2 separate regions of the Homo sapiens genome follow, and region 1 is linked to region 2. The links are contacts of gene promoters, found by promoter capture Hi-C in blood cells and fetal thymus (Javierre and others, 2016). All regions are on one chromosome and are shown on one strand. Each heading gives the region's core, a stretch centred on a gene start or on the middle of the fragment in contact. The rest is flanking DNA. Distances are from core to core; before and after follow the strand shown. Region 1 holds the start of CCDC28A (coiled-coil domain containing 28A). Region 2 has its middle 650 kb from the start of GJE1.

Evidence for each region. The method cuts DNA at HindIII sites, captures the fragments that hold promoters and counts their contacts. A CHiCAGO score of 5 or more calls a contact.
Region 1: a contact is called between the fragment with the promoter of CCDC28A here and a fragment that was not itself captured in region 2, in 1 of 17 cell types (naive CD4 T cells). The highest score is 6.4, in naive CD4 T cells.

The regions. Positions count from the first base shown.
Region 1 is chr6:138,768,487-138,775,469 of GRCh38, forward strand. CCDC28A (coiled-coil domain containing 28A) reads left to right here and starts at 5,283. Exons shown (of 6, transcript NM_015439.3): 1 at 5,283-5,416. It overlaps CCDC28A-AS1 (CCDC28A antisense RNA 1), which reads right to left and starts at 5,217. Exons shown (of 3, transcript NR_161205.1): 1 at 5,029-5,217. RefSeq lists enhancers at 4,334-5,008, 5,009-5,682, 5,046-5,095, 5,116-5,175, 5,536-5,595 and 1 more. The HindIII fragment of the contact is 8,118 bases long and covers 1-6,983 here.
Region 2 is chr6:141,481,426-141,489,109 of GRCh38, forward strand. It overlaps the pseudogene RN7SKP106. Among named protein-coding and RNA genes, the nearest start is that of GJE1, 650 kb to the right of the region's middle. RefSeq lists an enhancer at 2,197-2,336 and a silencer at 7,174-7,374. The HindIII fragment of the contact is 2,721 bases long and covers 1,710-4,430 here.

The DNA of each region.
Region 1 (6,983 bases), core at 4,033-6,532, 2.7 Mb before region 2:
AAAATACAAAAATTAGCTGGGTGTGGTGGCACCTGCCTGTAATCCCAGATATTCAGAAGGCTGAGGCACGAGAATCGCTTGAACTTGGGAGGCGGAGGTTGCAGTGAGCCAAGATTCTGCCACTGCACTCCAGCCTGGTGACAGAGTGAGACTCTGTCTCAAAAAAAAAAAAGTGTACAGCCTGGAGTAGACAAGAGATGGGGTTTCCCCCAACTCCCGGTCTGGTGCACTTTCCATGACACCATACCATGCTCCTCCATAAATGGTGGCTCCCAGCTCTTCACCACGTGGTTCTTCCTTTCACTATTAACAGTTCCCAAAAGGCTTGCTCATCTACAATAGCACAGCTCTGAAGGCCTTCAGTGCTGGATAGTTCAGATCCAGTCTCTTGGCACCCTTTTTAGAGGGTGTCTCAAGGAATCTTACCAAGTTTTATAATAGTAGTCATAGTACAGTATGGCTTTTGAAATAACTTATTTTTTCAGGTCTGAGCTGTAAAGCAAGCCTATATAACACCTCACTATGGCCCATTTCTCTTAACTGGCCTTCCTGTTTCCATTCTTCTATAGAATAATCTTTTAAAAATGTAACTTAGACCATGTCATGCCTTAAAACTCTCCAATGCCTATTGCTGTGCTTAGGGGAAAAAATACAGATTTCTTATATTGGTTTAAAAAACCCTTCCTGACCTGACCCTCTGGCAACCTTGGGGACTTCATCTCATACTACTTCTTGTCCCCCTGCACTCCAGACCACTACGCTGGCATTCTTTCAGTTCCGTGAACATGCCGAGCTCATTTCTGCTTTATGACTTCTTATCTTTTTTCTTAGCTGTTTCCTGAGCCAGACACGCAAAGAAGCATTAAGCAGTTACTATCTTGGCCAAGGCATTCCGGCATCAGGGGAAATGGAAGTGGAAGCACACTTAGAAAATGATGGATAGGCTTCTGGGTAAAAACAAACAAAAACAAGAAACAAACAAAAAACATCTCTTCCCTATAAGAACCACAAAGGACAATACAGGAATGACTGTGCTTCAGGCACTGAGAGTATCCATTTGCTTTGAGATACCTGCCTTCCCCTTTAGAGCAACAGTCCCCAATCTTTTTGGCACCAGGGACCAGTTTAGTGGAAAACAATCTTTCCATGGATGGGGCGGGGTGGGGGTTGGGGATGAAACTGAAACTGTTCCACCTGAGATCATCAGGCTTTCGTTAGATTCTCATAAGGACCACCGCCCACCTAGATCCCTTGCATGCGCAGTTCACATTAGGGCTCAGGCTCCTATGAGAATCTCATGCCACTGCTGATCTGACAGTAGGTGGGAGCTCAGGTGGTAATGCTCCCTCACTGGCTGCTCACCTCCTGCTGTGTGGCCCAGTTCCTAACAGGCCACGGACTAGTTCCAGTCTACAGCTGGAGGCTGGGGACTCCTGCTTTCATAGCGCCCTAACTTTCTGAAGGGAAAGGACAATGCATGTTTGTAGCTCAACTAATGAGGCTGTACAAGAGAGGCTTCCAAACCCATTCATCACCTGAGGACCTTACAGAAAGAGAGGTTCCTGACTCAAGTAAAATGTGAAAAAAGTTATGACACTTCTGATTCGAATGGAAACTTGAATACTTACTGAATATTTAATAACATTAATCATTCATTGCTGCTTAGGAATCATAAAGGCATTGTGGTGAAGTCTTTAAAAGTTTTAATCTTTTAGCAATCTATATTAAAATATTAGGGATTAAATTATATCTGAGATTTACTTCAACATAATACTAGAGACTGAAAAATGTCAGAAGAGGGGCTTTTTTTTTTTACAGGTTTCATCTGAATACATATTTATCAGATCAATATTACAGGTTATCACATTATCTACTACATACAGCTTTGCAAGACAGAAATCACAGTTTTCTGGCCAAGGTATGAAATGATTGCATTGTATATACAATGTACAAGGACAATGACAGTTTCTGGGTGATTTACTTCTAGCTGCACTTGTGGGTGTGTTTACGCGTGTCCATGTGAATCACCTGAGATTATGATATCAAAAATTTATAAGTATAAATTCGGTTATAATTTTCTTCTCAAATGCCTGTTTCTTTTCTTATCCTCATAGCACCCTAAAAAATAACATAACAAAAATTCCATTCCATAAAGGATCAGGGTCAACGTCACTGGTAACAGCTATAATCGACATCATTGGCCAGGGGTTAATGGCTGGATGAGGGATTCATTATAGTCTTCTGTCTTCCTCAGTATATGTTTGAAATTTTCCATAAGACAAATTTTTTTTAAATAGAGATTTCTGGGCCCCCAGCAGATTTTTCTCTCAATGGCTCTCCACTGCCACTACTAGGAAATTCGCCAGCAGTATTCCTCCTTACCTACCTATGCTATACAATGTATGAGTACTGGGAGGCAGGGGAAGGGTCTTGTTAATCAAAGCTCCCATCCTCTAAATATAATCCTCAGGAAGAAAGTATATGATTGGAGTAATTTATACAAGGTCTGCATTTAACAGTTAATCCAAAGAATGGATGCTTACAGTTTAAAGGAATTAAAGGAAAATCTAGAAAATCTGAAAGATCATTTCTCTCAGGGAGGAACTCTAGATTTTAGATTAAAGAAATCACACTTGAAACTGTACCTCTACAACAACTCTATCTTGCGTCACTCTGTCCCTAGCCCAGTACAATTCACCTCACTAACCCTCTGCTTCCTCAAACATGTTAAAGTTCATTTTGCCTAATGGCCTGCATTTTAGCCGTATGTTCTATTCAAGAATGCTTCTTTTCTTCTCCTTCTCCTTCTTATTTTTTTTTTATTTTTTTGAGACAGGGTCTCATTTTGTAACCCAGGCTGGAGCACAGTGACATGATCATGGCTAACTGCAGCCTTGACCTCCTGGGTTCAGGTGATCCTCCCACTTCAGCCACTCAAGCAGCTGGGACTACAGGCCTGCATCACCATGCCCAGCTAATTTTTGTATTTCTTGTAAAGACAGGGTTTTGCTATGTTGCCTAGGCTGGTCTCCAGCTCTTAGGTTCAAGCTATTTGTCTGCCTCAGCCTCCCAAAGTGCTGGATTACAGGCAAAAGCCACCGTGCCTGGCACTCAAGGACTCATTTTCCTCAGATCATTCCATGGCTGGCTCATGCACTTTATTCATATCTCTACCTCAAAGCTGCATTTTCGGGAAGGCCTTCCCTGATACTTCTCCTTCAGTACAAACTACTTTTGACCTTAAGCTGTTATTTCAGGACTCTCATCTGACTAAATGAAACTATTTTATTTGCATACTAATTTATTGTCAGTCTCTTATATCGGGAATATAAGATCTCTGACTATAAAGCTCTTGTACCTTTTGTTGATAGATGCATCCTGACCTCCTATCACAGGGTGTGGCTAAAATAGGGACTTAAAATAGGTATTCAAAACCTGAATACCTATTTCTGAATACCTGAAACATGTCCATTTAGAAGGGTACTTTCCTGTGTCCCTACATCATGTTGGAGGTTGTAAACACAAATGCTACAGGGCTCAGATGGGTACTAAAGACAAAGAAAAACTAGATATTACTTGAACTGAGGTAAAGGAGGCAGATGCTTTCCAGCTTGAACCATTGTTGCCAGGCTACAATGCACATCTAACGTAGTCAGATCTTCCCGTTAATTCATGGGATGCCACATTGTTTTTATTCTTTCAATTTTAGCTGTTAGCAACCAATTTGAAAAAAAAAAAAGTAGCATGTGAATCACCAGTTGCAAGCTCTGTTCATACAAATAAGACAATTCGACATTAATTAAAAGGAGAAACTGGGAAAAGATATTGAGCAGACTGTACAGTAGTGTTTGTAATGGTGAAAAATGGGAAACAACCTAAACATCCATCACTATGGGAATTCCCAAATAATTTGTGACAAATCTATTTGATAAAGTCTAGCTATATTTATCAATGTGGATAGCTCTCAAAAACACAGAATTTGGTGAAAAAATCAAGTTGCAGATCAATACACAAAATATAATAGCATTCATGTAAAACTTCAAATGCCCCAAACCATTCTACATATTGTTTATAATACATAGTAATAGTTTAAATATAGAAACCTAGATTGGCAAGATACATATCAAATTCATGATCCTGGTTGCCTCTCTGAGGGTGGTAGTAGAATGGGACTGAGAATAGGGAACACCTTCTTTATCTGTAATGCTCCATTTCTTTCATTCATAAATCTGTTCGTTCTGGATAGTGGGTGCGTTGTTTATTCTGTGCTTTTTTTTTTTAACATTTCAATAGTTTTGTTTTTTTTTTTTAAATGGCGGGTGGCGGAAGAACATCCTATCCTAGAAGCCAAGAGACTGGGGTTGTCTTTGCTCTGCCTTTTCTGGCATGGATACAATCTCTAGATATGGTTTCCCCATTAGCTAATGCGGGGGGTGCTATGTGGTGTTCCTCCAGAGTCCCTTCAATCTAAGGACCTGTGAATCTAAAACCTTCCCACCTCCCACTCCAACACCGGGAAGGCTACCCAGACCAGGCAATGAAACGTGCATTTCTTCCCTCATTTAAGATAGATCTCTTTCTCTCAGCCTGCAATTCCTTCTCCAGAGGCTTTAAGTATAGTGGAAGTAGAACTATCTTTGACGACAGAGAGACACCTGCATCAATTAGCCTTTCTGAGCCTCAAATTCCCCATTTGTAAAACAGAGAGTATAACACCTACCCATAAAATTGTAGAGAGGTTTAGATACACCGTTATGTGTAGGGCCCGAACAGAGTAGCTATTAATAGTGGTAACAGACTCTCAATTAGGGGCTCAACATCATGGTCGCTGAACAGAATCACGGTCGCTGAACAGAATCACACTCTTCACGCCGCCTTGGAGCCAAAATTAGTTTAGCCGCGAGAAGTCCGGGCAACCAATCGGAAACAACCAAGGAACAGTTGCATGGCGACACTCTGGTTCCGCCTTCGGGCATGCTCGAACAGCATTCTGGGAATTGTAGTTCGGGGGGGGAATCTAACACTCACCGAGGGGCGGAGTAGCTTCCGGAAAGGGTACTGCATTTCCCGTTTCTACCTCCACTGCACCCGCTTATTGCGTCTTGCTCCTGGGTCACAGAGCCTAAAACGACACACCCAACACGCCCGCCGGAGTTACAGCTAAAGGAAGGACAGGGGAAGCAATGAAATGCCGAGGGCGGAGCCAAGAGCGACACTGGGGGAGCAGGAAAAGGCGGGGCTTCCGCTTGGGGCATGGAGGCTGTACCTCTTACGTCACTTCCGTAAACAAACGGAGCTGCGGAGGAGCGGGTCCCGGGATGTGACCGGGGCTCTGCTTGTGGCTGCGGCGGTGGCTTCTGAGGCTGTCGGGTCTTTGCGGGTTGCGGAAGGGGGCCCCAATACCCTTCTTCTTCAGGTATGTAGTGGAAGCAAAGGAACCTCCGCAACCTGCCCCTTTAGGCCCTTCCCACCACTCTGGTCACTGCTGGGTACTGGGCGGTGAAGGGTCATCGCTTCGGTAGATTGGGGAAGGGGAATGAGGTGATGTCAAGAGGGATGCCCAGTGGTACTGCTTGGAGGCAAGACCTGGCACTTAAAACCACTGTGTGAATAAGTAACTATGAGCAGTTTACTTATTATGCCTTCTCTAAAACATTCTTTGCTGTTTGATATACAGGAAGGGTTTCAGTGCTCTTGTGACAGATGTAATTTTCCAAAAACGAGGAAATCGCGAGTGCTGGCTCCGCAGAATATTGTGGTTTAGACCACCACTGGTTTATTTGCATTGCTTTACTTCCTAGATTTTTTTTTCTTGTACCACCAAGTGTGTATTAGCATCGTTAAATTTCAGGCCAGCGTGTTTATGCGTATCATACATTTTTACAGATCCTTGCCTCTTCAGAGAACTAATCGTCTCTATTCAGTCATCTTTCAAACTCTCATTTAATTTGTGTTGCATGTTGAAACAACACCAGAATTATTGTTCTGTTACAAAAAATGCTTCTTAAAAGAAAAATTGTTAGCCAAGGTTTAAGTGGATTGACACCCAGTGGTATCTGGGATTAGAGACTGGGCATTGGAGCCTTTCCCAGAAAGCCTCTTCTTTGGCAGTATTGTAGCTCCAGTTGTAATTGTCTAGCGTCAGCCAATTTAAGCTCAGTGGTTTAAATTCCAGTGCCAGTGGCACTAAGTCCAGGCAAAAGGAAAAAGAAAAATTTATTGAATTCATCAAATAATTATTTTAAGCGACAGCAATGGGTTTGAATCTTTTTGAATGGTCATGGCATGCCTAAATTAAACACAGCATGCCAAAAACGGCCTAATGTTTCTAGAAGGCAATTTACAACCTGATGAGGTAGAGATAGCCATATAAATTCATCTTATGATATATGAAATAATGAAGTTAAGAAAAATTTAACACTATGCACAAATAAAGTATGGAAGGGGTTTTTTTGTTTTGTTTTGTTTTGTTTTGTTTTGTTTTTGAGACGGAGTCTCGCTCTGTCGCAGTGGCACCATCTCGGCTCAGGGCAAGCTCCGCCTCCCGGGTTCATGCCATTGTCCTGCCTCAGCCTCCTGAGTAGCTGGGACTACAGGCGCCCGCCACCACTCCCGGCTAATTTTTTGTATTTTTAGTAGAGACGGGGTTTCACCGTGTTAGCCAGGATGGTCTCGATCTCCTGACCTCGTGATCCGCCCGCCTTGGCCTTCCAAAGTGCTGGGATTACAGGCGTGAGCCCGGCCGGAAGGGTATTTTTTAAATAGATGGATGTTAGAAAATAGAGCGGATTAATAGATAAAGTAAGGGGATTGTGTAGGGATAACTAGGAGGCCTTACACGTATTCCGCATGGAAGGGCCATCTGTAACTTCACATTGTTAACTTTTTTGATATGGGCAAAACTAAATATATATCATAAAATTCACGTTTGTTTGGAAATGGTTAGAGAAAGTATATTCAAAATAGGCAACGAACAAGTTTGA
Region 2 (7,684 bases), core at 1,820-4,319:
TTGTGTGCAGTACCACAATTTTCAAATTTCTGAAAGACAATATATATTTGACACAGCATCAGCCATATGTTTGTACTTGTAGGAAGCATGTTGTAGACATAAAATAATACTACCAACTTGGAGAATTTACAGAACTCCACCATCCTTCTGTCTTCCTCCTTCATTTCAATTGGTTGTCAGGTCTTATACTATATATTTTAATTATACCATCTAACTACCTTTTAGTTACGTTATCTCTTCTTATAGTCATGGGATGAGAAGTGTCATCCATCTTTTATCATTTCATCTTCCAGTCAAATTTCCACTGGCTTCATTGGCACAACATCTACAAAAGTATGTATAACATCGTGATCTCAAAAACAAACAACACAAATTAAAAATCAAACAAGCAAACATCTCTTGACCTTGCCTGTGGTGCTTTTCAAAAGACTGGGAAGTGGAAAAAGGGGACGTTCTGTGCTGAGGGTAAGAAAAAGCAGAGGTAATGAAGTATGACAGTATGAGATTTATTAGGAGGAAATATGAATATCAAATTATTGGTATTCTACTTAAGACTATGAAGAACAAAAGTGGATAGACAGGGAATCACAGGGGAGAGTGCCTCCTGAAATTTTATAACAAAAGCTGCATGGCACCTTAGCCATTCAAAAAATATATTCAGGTTTGTTATCCATAATAATTGAAGTAGGCCAATAGTTTTCAAAGTTCAGTTCAAAGTTTGGTTCAGTTAATAGTTTACTCTGCTTCATAAAATATAGAATTCCCTTCTCATCATCAGCGACTTCAAACCACAATGCCTTTTTAGGGCCAAGAAATGGAGCTATATAATAAACACTGCACAGATTCTGGAACAGGCTCTCTGGAGACAAAAGACTGAGAAAAATTCAGAAGTACTATCAGAAAATTGTCAGTCACAGGTTTAAATGGATGTGATGAAACTAGTTATGACTTAGTGGCTACTGATGGCTTATCATGCATTTTTTTAATGGAAAATGTCTTTCCTCCAGAACTTTAAAATTTGGAAATATTCATATACTAATATATTTTATGTAATAATATTAGAAGAGGAAGAACCTATATTCACATATTAATTATCATTTTTCTCACAAAGAAATAGAGATAAACCAAGACTAAGACATGGTCCCAAGATCACACAGCAATTAAGATTCAGTCCTTATTTACTATTCATTTCATTCTCTGAAACTGCAATTATATTTGCTTTCAAAGAATGTTCCAGAAAAATATAAGTGTAGAAAAAGAATAATATAGACATTAATTTCACTAAATAATATAAGCATTTTTTTTTTCTTTTTCTATCAGCTGAAAGCAGCCTAGGAGTGTTAATCCTCTTGGTGTTTCTCAACCAGACTCTTTTGCATGATAAAACAATTTTACTCTCATTGGTCTATTCTAGCATTTAAGTTAATTTTCCAACCATCTAAATTCCAAGTGTGCACCATAGAGGTTGAGCTTTTCTATCCATCTGCTACACCAATACCGTCCAGTCTATGCCAATGATTGAAGGGTATAAAAAAAGGGCCGTGTGGTCGTTTCAGTTTTGTTTTGTTTTGCAATGCAGACGCACTTGGAGCAGCAGGTCAATGAATTCTGGGAACTGCATCTTTTTGACACATGAGACCTTTGCAGAATGAATCAAAGTTAAATCCCATGAATAAATGCTAGTGTTTAATAATCATTCCGTTTATGGAAGCTTTATTGTGAATTCATAAAAGCAAGGACAATATTTCCTTGCAAGTCCACAAATCACCATCATAAGCAAGGCAATCGTGAATAAACTGAGCTGGACTGCATAGCCTCTTTGGCAGTTGCTAGTATTTAAATATGGATGGGAGAAGCAAAGACTAGGAGAAGTTGTCCTAAAGCAAGCAAATGACAGCTCCCACAAATAAAGGGAAAAATGTTAAAACAATAAACAAAAGAGAAACAATTACTTGCTCATTACAAACATGTCATATTGCATTCTTTATTTTGATTGTGGAAAATTAGCCATTGACTACCAGGAACAATTGATTTTCCTTCACAGCTGTTTTCTAATTACATCTGAACACTGAAAATTCTAGTGCAGCCATTCAGCTGTACAAAGAGAATTTTCTTTTATTATTTTTGCTATTGCTGCAAGCTCTGCCCAGAAGCATGACTATAGTTAGATGATCTGTACTGTATATATGTGGTGTTTGTATTAAAAGCCATGCTTTTCAGGGATGTTATAAGAACTCAAATATTTTAAATTACATAGGGCAGAACTTGGTGTACAAGCTGTTTTGCCCAGATGCTATTACGTAGCTTTCTCTTTCTTTTTGCCATCAAAACAAGGAAGAAGATAATGAAGATAGCTTAAATCGGTACATCCGTTTCTTAGTCACTGCATAGTCGTCAATTGGATCTATTTTTGTCATTGTGGCTTCTGATGAGTGTTTTGGCACAGTCTTACTGGGAGGGTGGAGGGTGATGGGCAGTTTCCTGTCAGTTAATTCTGTGGGTAAATTCTAAGCAAAGAGCATGGAGATTATTAACAGGCAGGATTCCAAGGTTTCAGAGAAGCAATTGAAATTTTTGGATGCTTCTCTTCAAACGCTTTAGAATTTTCCTCAAAATGATTTCAGTTTTAAAATATGGCCAGAAATATGAAACTTGCCCTTGGGAGTTTTCTAGGACTTGCGGTTAGTGAGTTCTGGAAAAATAGTTAAGATACTTCCTTCAGAGTTTAGGGTCTCTGATTAATCTTTACCATAATTTAGGTGAAATCAGCTCAGCAATGTTAACAATTCAGCAAAAATAAAGTGAAACCTTAAAATGTTTTTTTTCCAATGGAAAAAAAAACACAACATTTCAAGCCTGGGTTATTAAAGCAAAAACTGGGAGCTCTTATTTATTTACTTATTTATTTTAATTTTTTTAATTTATTTTTATTTTTTGTAGAGACAGGGTCTCACTATGTTGCCCAGGCTGGTCTACCACTCCTGGCTTCAAGCGATCATCCTTCCTCGGCCTCCCACAATTCTGGGATTACATACGTGAGCCACCACACCCGGCCAGCTCTTTGTTGCCATTTATTAAATATTTGCCCTCTTTAGAGGTAACTTTAATCAGGTATCTGTTCACTGGATGGCAATTTTTTAAGTCTTTGATCAAAACTCTAACCTCTGTAGTTCCTGTAGTAACGCAGTGTAACTTGAAATTTGCCATTTTACTTGGAAGGCTCAAAGATTCCTCAATGGCCCATCTTATTTTAGTATTTCCTTTGCCAAGATTAAGATTGAGGTGATGATTGTTTAATTAAATTAAATTTGGCTTGAGGCTGTCTCGGTACCGTAGGTCCCTACATAACAAACTACAATTTAACTAAACAAACTGAAAGCCTAATTTAGGAGTATATATTGTAACAAATTGCTAGGTCTCAGCCAGTCACAGCCGACTAGCTTCAGCCAATCACAGGCTGCCAATTGATCAGACCATGTCCAAACAAGTAAAAAATGCTAAGCTGTAACCAACCAGTTTCTGTACCTTACTTTCATTTTCTGTCCATATGTACTGCCTACCTACTTTGCAGAAGTGAGATCTCTGAACCACTCTGCTGGCTCTTGAGAGCTACTGGATTCCCAAATAATTCTCTGCTTCATTAAACTCCTTTAAATTTGTCTAAAGATTTCCTTTTAATACATTTCATCTCATTTTTATTTTTCTAAATTTTGATAACTTTCATTGACTTTTATCATAAAAATCAAGTCTAATACAAAATAAAACAATATAAAAATAAATGTATTGAAATTATATCAATTTTATTTCCTGACATATTTTCTTGATTTATATCATTACAAAAGATAAAAACTATCAGCATGGAGTTTTGAAACCATAAAAAATTTTTTTGAAAGAATGAGGAAAAGCAGCAAGAACTTTGGGTGTGATGGAGGTATGTGGTTAATTTAATAGGACTGATTTTTTTTTTAATTCTGGGATTTTTCTCACATAACCATATAATCTATTTGAAAACCAGATATTTACTAGAAGAGAGTGGCAAATATCCACTACTGAATAGATAAGAGTTTAGACATTAAAACTGAAAGCACTCTTAAGTATTTTACATGTAAAGAGGTTTAAGACACAGAACTAGTGGCCAATAAAACTGCTGAGAGGTGGCAAAATGACAGTCAGAAAAGCTGCTTTCAAGATATTTTTAAGTGAAGGAATCTCAGGAAGCCATTAACAATTATTTTAGTTGCCTACCACACCTAAGAAGATGATTCTCAGGAAGATCTCCAAAATCAATGGGCAAAAACCCATGTCTGCCATTTGTCAAAGCCCACACATTTATCCTCAGCCATGGCATGAGAACAATGGCTTCTGCTCTTCTACAACACCAAGAAATTTTCTCTTATCACTTAGATACAACTGAACCCCAATGGCAATGAAGCTTGTTTCCAGTCTTTATGTCCCTGTGAAATAAGAAACAACTTACAAATTTAGAGATGATAATACAGCAACAATATCTGAAAGAACTACACTTGAACACAAGAATTCAAACCCTAAAAGTAATAAAGTAATACCAATAATGATGTTATTTCACATACAGCTGTTCAATTGGATAATCACTGAATTGTCCTTACCGTTTAATTTATTTTTCTCCAGACTTACTCTATATGAACTATTCAACAATAGCAACAAAATAAATCAATAAATAATAAACAAGAGAGGTGAAGAATAATATCATGTGATTGATTTTTCTCTTCTTGAGAGCTTGTTTGGAAGTTCTAGCAGGGAAGCCCATCTACTCACGTGCCCTTGACTGAAGATGGGTCCTTCTCCATCGCGGATGGTCATCCTCTTTTACCGAGCACACAGCTTTGGAAGGAACGCATATGGAGTGGTGAGGAAGGAAGGGAACACCTGTCTAGTCAACCAGATCTGCTGCACCAACCCTGGCAATCAAATGGTTGATAGATGTTGCTCTTAGATTGCCCTCATATCCATAATTTTTCTCTTCTTCTTCTTCTTCCTTTTACCAAAACAACTACAACAACAACAAAACAAATAACTTTAATTTTGAAATGGCATTATGAGAAAAGGGTTCTGTATCGTGCTAATCCTTTTTTTTTTTTTTTTTTTTTTGAGACAGAGTCTGGCTCTCTCGCCCAGGCTGGAGTGCAGTGGCGTGATCTCGGCTCACTGCAACCTCTGCCTCCTGGGTTCAAATGATTCTCCTGCCTCAGCTTCCTGAGTAGCTGGGATTACAGAAGCTCACTACCACGCTCAGCTAATTTTTGTATTTTTAGTAGAGACGGGGTTTCACCACGTTGGCCAGGCTGTTCTCGAACTCCTGACCTCATGATCCGCCCACCTCAGCCTCCCAAAGTGCTGGGATTACAGCTGAGCCACCACACCCAGCCTGTGCAAATACTTTTTATGAGGAAATCATAGAAAAAGTATCTGTTAGTTGACAGGCAGTATCCATATTACAGTGTTTGGTTTGAGCACTTGAGTTGTTCTGAAGCTAGGTTACCATGAAAATAAATACAGTGATACTTGGAATCAGAGAACACATATGGTCAGCATTTTCCAGATGGCATATTTATGTCAAATGTATAGACATTATAAGAAAAAATATTATAAGTCAATATTAAGAAGACTCTCTAAATATTTAGGTAAATACAATGCACTGTTCCCTCCGCCCAGAAATAGAGTATGATCCTGGCACCTTGCCAAGAAACACATAGAAATATCCTTGTACGTTGTGCTTATAGTAGATAATCTGAAAAGTTTCATCCAAATCTTAAATTCTAGATATGAATAGTTTGTAATAAAGTGTTAGAAGGATCAAGATTAAAAATTATTTGCATATGGTTCCCAACGCCTCTTAGTAATCAGTGGATGATAAGTTCCTTGTAACTTATTTTAATAAAAAGTCTTGAGTACAGAATGTGAGTATATTATAGACTAAATATTTATATTCCTTCCCCCAGATTCATATATTGAAGGCCTAACTGCCAATATGACTGTATTTGTGTATTTGGGGAAGAAGCCTCTACAGATATAATTAAGGTTAAATAAGATCATTAAATTGGGACACTAATCCAATAGAAATAATGTCTTTATAAGAAGAAACACCAGAGAGAAAAATAACTTTCTCCTCTCTCTCACTCTCTCTCTTTCTCTCTCTCTCTAGCTGTCTCTCCAGGAGGACACAAAGAAAAGATCAAGACAGCATGTAGCAAATGTAGCAAGGAGGCATCCAATCATCTGCAACCCAAGGGGCAAACCCTCGCCACACACCAACCCTGCTGGCTCCTTGCTTTTGGACTTCCAGTTTCAGAATTATGAGAAAATACATTTCTGTGTTTAGGCCATCAAGTCTATTGTATTTTGTTCTGACAGCCTGAACAGACTAATACACAGTATAATACAATTGAATTGTTGATTCATCTAAGAAATATATAATTTCTACATGGTTTGTTGCAATTATCTGGGAATAAATATTACCATGACCACTTATTCAGAACTTGATATCTGTATTTATTTCTAAGCATGCATATAATCCCATTACTTGGTAGTCATTTGAATGTATGTTCCACACTTACACCAAAAAGTGATAATAGTATTGACTTCATATAAGAAGTCTTGATAGTCAGTAGTATTGACTTCACATAAGAAAATATTATAAATTAATTCCAATTCCAATTTATGAAGATATTATAAATTTAATATCTCTGAATGTAAATTCTCGGTTGTTCTAGATATAAAAATAAATTATTGATTTATTTTGCTAAGCTACTATAAAACACAATAAAATTTAAAAGCCTCAATTTTGCTGATTGTTTACTATTACAAATCATGCTGGAATGGACATTCTCATATTCTGTTTAGTCTTAATCCTTCCCCCACCAAATCCAATGGAGTCAAGGATTTGGACACAGACACTTTATTTTGAAGTTGATCCCAGGCACCAAAAATGAGAAAAGAAAGAAAGGGAAATAGGTAAGAGAAAAGGGGCAATAAAGTTACGTCTTAACAAGCTTGAGTACCACAGTTAACAACTGAGTCACAATCCCACTGGGGATTGTAAGGAACATACCTTGGGTTAGTTCTACCCCAGTACAAGGAAGCTACAGGATTTAGCCATTGCCTTTTAGCCCCAATTGTTGAGGATTTCCCTTAAGTAGTGTTAACACAGGCACATACTGAGTGTTCCTGTGTCCAGCATTTCTATCTCATTTGTTTTCAGAGAAACGGCTTAAGTGGAGAAGGGTGATGCAGAAACAGGAAGTTACAGTCTAGCAGCAGGTCAGTAGCTGTTTAAAGGAGCAGTAGGTGAACTCATCAGGCCAAAGGGACAGGGAGCATTTACTAAATTTGCACATATGTAAGAGTTTCTCTAGTGTACACATTCAGTAATGATTTCATTACTGAGCTGTCTATGGCTGTTTCTTCAACCTTATAAGATATTGCTACATTGCTCCTCAAGGTTGTGCTGCCCAAAGACAATCCTGCCAAAATAATGAAATGTTCCAGTGGTGTAAAATTTTTATCAGTATATATATAATGGTTATATATATATGTGTGTGTGTGTTTGTGTGTGTATATATATATGGTTAAAATAATATTTTTATCAAATATGTATATACAATTTATGATATAAATTATAAATTATGGTAAAATTATATATTATTAT